2 separate regions of the Homo sapiens genome follow, and region 2 is linked to region 1. Evidence: promoter capture Hi-C in human tissues and cell types (Jung and others, 2019). All regions are on one chromosome and are shown on one strand. Each heading gives the region's core, a stretch centred on a gene start or on the middle of the fragment in contact. The rest is flanking DNA. Distances are from core to core; before and after follow the strand shown.

The links. Contacts are between HindIII fragments. The study calls those that stand out against the background at their distance.
Region 2: a fragment that was not itself captured here is called in contact with the fragment with the promoter of PDZRN4 in region 1 in 4 of the 25 tissues and cell types used here (H1 embryonic stem cells, aorta, hippocampus and 1 more).

Annotation. Positions count from the first base shown.
Region 1 is chr12:41,186,748-41,189,752 of GRCh38, forward strand. It overlaps PDZRN4 (PDZ domain containing ring finger 4), which reads left to right and starts at 1,573. Exons shown (of 10, transcript NM_001164595.2): 1 at 1,573-2,356. The coding sequence starts at 1,709. LOC124903069 (a long non-coding RNA gene) reads right to left here and starts at 1,485. Exons shown (of 2, transcript XR_007063563.1): 1 at 1,054-1,485; 2 at 1-583. The HindIII fragment of the contact is 4,288 bases long and covers 866-3,005 here.
Region 2 is chr12:41,149,489-41,152,493 of GRCh38, forward strand. No RefSeq gene overlaps it. Among named protein-coding and RNA genes, the nearest start is that of PDZRN4, 37 kb to the right of the region's middle. The HindIII fragment of the contact is 3,870 bases long and covers 1-3,005 here.

The DNA of each region.
Region 1 (3,005 bases), core at 323-2,822:
AATTCTAGAACATGTATTTCCAGTTTATGCAATTCACAAAAATATTTTCATGCTGTTAATATTAAATGATTTCTTATTTAATCAGTAATTCATTGTTTGCTTATTTATTTGTAGAAAGACAGGTCGAAAGAGGGGGGAAATTTGGAACATAGGGGCAAATGTTACTTTATCACATATGAATCTATATATATTAAATGAGAAATATAGCATCTTATTTTGAAAAAGAGTTTAAAAGCATATCAAACATCTAGCACACCAATCATCACTGGTTATTGAACAACTAACAAAATCTCATCTTTCAAACAGCAAGAAGGCTCAGAAGGTTATTAGCCTCTATTATTAGTCTTTGCTAATTCTTCAGTTAGCTCCAAGGATTTAAAAGACAAAGTCTGGAGCTGTTCTCATCAATTCCAACTGATGCCATTTGGTGTCATAGAGAATTACAAGCTTTCCAGGAACAAGGCTCAACTGGCAGCAAGGAATCATCAATGATTAATTTATAAAACCCACCCAAGCATCTGGTGGCAGCTTCAGGATAATGGCAGTAAGTGATATGCAGCCAGGTGACAGGATCTCTGCATTCCTAAGGTTCAGAAGATGGTAAAGGAAGTGGAGTAAGAAGGGTTTGGAATGACGCCCTACTGCGTGTTTTCAGGACGGCTTGTCATGCTACACAATTTGAGGAGTCAAACTAGGAGGGGAGGCAATTTGGATCCAAAGGGTTCATTCAGGGTAAGTAGAAGGAAGCAGCCACTAAGATTTTATTTATATGTTATTTCACTGCTTTCTTTCATCATCCTTCCCTTTAATTTTCCCTTCCAGGTTCCCAAATGATCACATTCCCGTCCCCAGTAGTAAAACGCCCGTGGAAGTAGAAGATGGATGCTGTGGCAACTGAACCTGGAGTCAGACTCAGAATCCCAGCTTCCTCACTCGGGAGGAGGCCTTGCATGGCTGTTCATGGGCTCCCTAAGAAGGCAGTGTCCTGAGGCGGGCCCTTGACTTTTTCCCCATCTTTGCTGCTAGGTCAAGGATCGCGCCATTCTAACTCACCTGATTTCTGGATCACGGTTTGAGAAGCCTGGCCCTGTGGATTTCCTAGTGTTATTTTCCTTATAGTGATTTCCTAAGGTCACAGTTTCCTAACTTCTGATTTTGTAGTTTTGATGTGAAAGAACAAAAGTGCTTCGATTTCAAACATATTGGAGATAGACTCGACGCCGGGCGGGCCATGGGCATTCAGCGGAAAACCAGACAGACAAAAAGATTCTGCTCTCCCGAAGCTTACATTGTGGTGAATTTAAAAGTTGTTTCTCAACATTAGCGCTTTACCCATCAGCAGCCCTGCCCAGGGCGAGGCGCCTCGATGCTTGAAGTTCACTGTTCAGGCGAAGGAGAACACAGTGTTCCCAAGGACCATTGTAAGCTGGGCGGCCAAAATTTGAAAGAACATAAATCGCAGGGCAACGAAGGAGGCGGGGGTCTCTGGAGGTTACTTCTATTAGCGTCAATACGGGCGAAATCAGGGGACCTAGCAGGAGCCTGAAAACTTCAAGCCAAACAAACAGTGAGATCACACCTCCCACCCGCCACCTCCCTCCACTGCCGCCGCCGCGAGACGGCTGCCCCGGGGGTGGCCCGGGGAAGGCAGGGGGGCTCGGAGAAGACGGACTCTGCTTTCGCTCCCCCTTTCTTCCCCATCCCTAACATGGGCTTTGCCCTGGAGCGCTTCGCAGAAGCCGTGGACCCGGCTCTGGAGTGCAAACTGTGCGGCCAGGTGCTTGAAGAGCCCCTGTGCACGCCGTGCGGGCACGTCTTCTGCGCCAGCTGCCTGTTGCCCTGGGCGGTGCGGAGGCGCCGGTGCCCGCTGCAGTGCCAGCCCTTGGCGCCCGGCGAGCTGTACCGGGTGCTGCCGCTGCGCAGCCTCATCCAGAAGCTGCGAGTCCAGTGCGACTACCGCGCCCGCGGCTGCGGCCACTCGGTCAGGCTGCACGAGCTGGAGGCGCACGTCGAGCACTGCGACTTCGGCCCTGCCCGCCGGCTCCGCAGCCGCGGGGGCTGCGCTTCGGGGCTGGGCGGTGGTGAGGTGCCCGCGCGGGGGGGCTGCGGTCCGACACCCAGGGCTGGCCGGGGCGGGGGCGCGCGCGGGGGGCCGCCGGGCGGCCGCTGGGGCCGCGGGCGGGGACCCGGGCCTCGGGTCCTCGCCTGGAGGCGGCGCGAGAAGGCGCTGCTGGCGCAGCTCTGGGCGCTGCAGGGCGAGGTGCAGCTCACGGCGCGCAGGTACCAGGAGAAGTTCACCCAATACATGGCTCACGTCCGCAACTTCGTCGGCGACCTCGGTGGCGGCCACCGCAGGGTAAGCAAAGGGGGGTGGGCACCGCGGGCATGGTCGATTGGGGTGGGAAAAGGAGCGGTTCTTTCTGACGCTTCAGGATTCCTTTGGAATTGGGCATCCTTCCTCACTATGCAGCAGGAAACATCCACACCCTGATCATACTTTCCTGTCATTATCTTACGAATGGATTGGCGTCGAAGTTAAGGATTGTCCCTTTTCTGATTATATTACGATTGGAAAGAGTTAAACAGATTCGATTCTAACTTTCCCCCGGGAAAGTAGGAATTGTGAAAACTCATTTTCCATCCAGACTCTCGTTTTCCATCTTTCACCCTCCTGCCCACCGTCTCTGCCTATTTTTTGAGCACTTGTCCCGTGCCTGAAGCAAATCCGAGAAGGAAAGACAGAAAGCGAAGACTTTCCCGGCCCAGCCTTTCCTCTCCCGCGGCCACCAGCATCCCCGCGGCCCTGGCAGCCGCGCACGCACACCTGGGACTGGTGTCAGCGTTGATGACACTTGCGCTGCCACTGCCTGAATCAACTGCCTTCTATTAAGTTGGGGACTGTGAGGCACGTTGGGGCCAGGACAGCCTCAGGAGTTGAGAGATGGGGTTTCTTAGACTTGCAGAGTTCATTTCATCACTCTGACTTTCCCTAAATAAGCCTTCCT
Region 2 (3,005 bases), core at 224-2,723, 37 kb before region 1:
CCATGATCCAATCACTTCCCACCAGGTCCCTCCCACGATACATGGGAATTATGGAAACTACAGTTCAAGATGAGATTTGGGTGGGGACACAGCCAAACCATATCACCTTACTCTGATATTGAAATTACAGTATCTTCACTTTCCAAATAAGGACATTATAGAGTAGTTGCCTAAATTATAAGTAACTTCCCTAAGATCACACCATAGTAAGTAGCAGGGGTAAAATCTGAACCTAAGTCTAAGGCAGATCTAGGTTTTGTGGGACCTAAGCTTACACAATAGGTAGGGGGAGAGCAAAAGACAACAGAACATGAAATGCATTGCCTTGTGCTAGTGAGAGGCCCTCAAGCTTAAGCTTTATCTGGTTAGCTCCTGCCTGAGCGTCCCTGACGTCCAAGCATTTTATTTTTCCAGGCATTAGACAAGTAATACAAGTTAGTTATAGAAAAATAATAAAATGCACTCATCATTTTTATTTATTTAATTTATTTATTTATTTTGAGACAGAATCTCCCTCTGTCGCCCAGGCTGGAGTGCAGTGGCACAATCTTGGATCACTGCAACCTCCACCTTCCGGGTTCAAGCGATTCTCATGCCTCAGCCTCCCAAAGAGCTGGGATTACAGGTGCCTGCTACCATGATTGGCTAATTTTTGTATTTTGTATTTTAGTAGAGGCTGGGTTTTTTCATGTTGGCCACGCTAGTCTTGAACTCCTGACCTCAGGTGATCCACCCCCCTTGGCATCCCAAATTGCTGGGATTACAGGTGTGAGCCACTGTGCCCAGTCTACACTCATTTAAAAATCACTCAACATTCTGCCAGCCAGAGTTAATTGCTGTTAAGTACAGATTGTATACATCCTTGAAGAGATCTTCCTATACATTTTATATCTTGTTTCTTTTTCATTTAATATATTATTGACATTGAAAACATAAGCCACAACACAACAGTTTCCTGTTTATAAATATGTAGTGGCTTCTATATCAATTTTTATTAGTTTTTTTGTATCAAAATAACATGTTATTAATTTAAAAATAAAATATTGCTGTTAAGCTTACAGCTAATAACAGGAACCCCTGTAACTCCATCATCCAAACTCATACCCTAGAAGCAATCTTTTTCATCTCTAGCTATTTTTTCTTGCATTTCCTCTAAAATTTAAGATATTTATCTAATATTCTCTAAGATATTATCTACTGACCTTCTAATATGGAATACATGAACTTAATATTTTCCCATTTCTCTTAATTTTTTGTTCTTTCATTTTTCTAAACATTTTAGTTCTTAATATTCAGAAATTACCTTTTTATCATTATGCTAATGTCATTCATTGACAAATCAAGAGATACATATTTTCTTTCTTGTGCAACATATTTTCTTCTGGAATTAATAATGGTCATTATTTATTAGTTATCATTTATTCCTTTGTTACCAGTTCTTTCAAATACTCAGGCAGAACTCTGAACCCTTCTGAACACTACATTCTACATGGTCACACGTTAAATAAACTTTTCATTCCAGTTTGTTGTTGTTTTCAATAAAGACATTCCTGCTGGTCTTCCAAATATACTGCTGTTTTCTAGGCCTGCAACTCAGCTACCGACGTGAGATCTCCCTGGGCTCTTTTATGATGATTCCAGTTTTCTTTGCTCCAACATTTAATGTCCAAGTTGTTCTCTTTATTCACTCCCTCATTTTGGTGGAATATATCCTGATAATAGTTTCCAAAGCATGTGTATATGGAAGACAAATTATTTGTGAAATGTGAGTGCCTGAAATGTCTTTATTCTCATATGTGTTTAATAATGTCTGGCTACAGATTTGAAGCTCAGAAATAACTTTCCAACAGGATTTTGAAATCATTACTCTATGGCCTTTAAGCTTCCAACATTGATGAGGAACCCAAGGTCATGCTGATTCTCAATCTTATCTAGGTTACCAGCTTTTATTCCCCACTCCCCAGAAGATTTTAGGGTTCTTGTTTTCCCCTTAGTTTCCAATATTCCTAATGATGTGCCTGATGTCATCTTCCATTCATTGGTCAAAAATTCAATGATCTCTTCTAGTTTAGAGACTCACATGTGTCTATTCTAAGAATATTTCTTGTATTATTTCTTAGATAAGCCCATCTTCTTTGTTTTTTTTTTTCTGAAGCTCTAATTTTATTGAAATATTTTGTTTAAATAAAATATCAATATATTTAATCATGTATTTTGTTATTTATTCCATTTTTATCACTTCATTATTTTATTATTATTAAATAAATTGACTCCAATTTTGGTATTTGTTTTTAGCCACTGTATGGTTTCATATATTTCACTGAACTTAAGGCATAGTTTTCCTTTAAATATCTTGACTTTTTAAAAATTTCTTTTCTAACTTTTCAAGTTAGCATATTTGGGTTAGTGATGAATACGAAAGAACAAGTTGAACACAGGTTAGCAGGGAGAATGAGTAATGTTTGGCTACTTACATAAGTATTACAGCAAAACAAACTTGTGATGTCCTAAGCTCTTTTAACGTTGATGAGCTGCTGTGTTCTGACAACTGAATTAGTCATCTTTCGTGCTACATCATGGTGTGGAAGAATCCCATGAAAATGTGCATTATTCACTTATGGAATACCAAACATCCAGTCTTCTTTGTTCATGGTTAGCTTTACTTTTTTAACAGGAGAAAAATGATAATTTTTTGAAGATTTTTTTCTCTATTATGATATGTCACAATAGCCACCAAAGCAATGATTTTTTTTTCCTTTTGAAAGAATAAGATTGGTGAGCACTTTCAGAATGTTCTAGGTAACATGCAAACTCTCTCTCACATTTTTTTTTAAATATTTATCTCTCCAAAAATTGCTGCCAATTTTATTTAACAAATCTACTCATTCTGGTCTTTGTTCCCATTTCTCAAATGGTACCAATGACTTGACGCTTATTAATCCAATGTTAATTTTTATCTCACTCAAGCTGCCTTGATACTGTTAACTATTCATTAGCCACTGAGT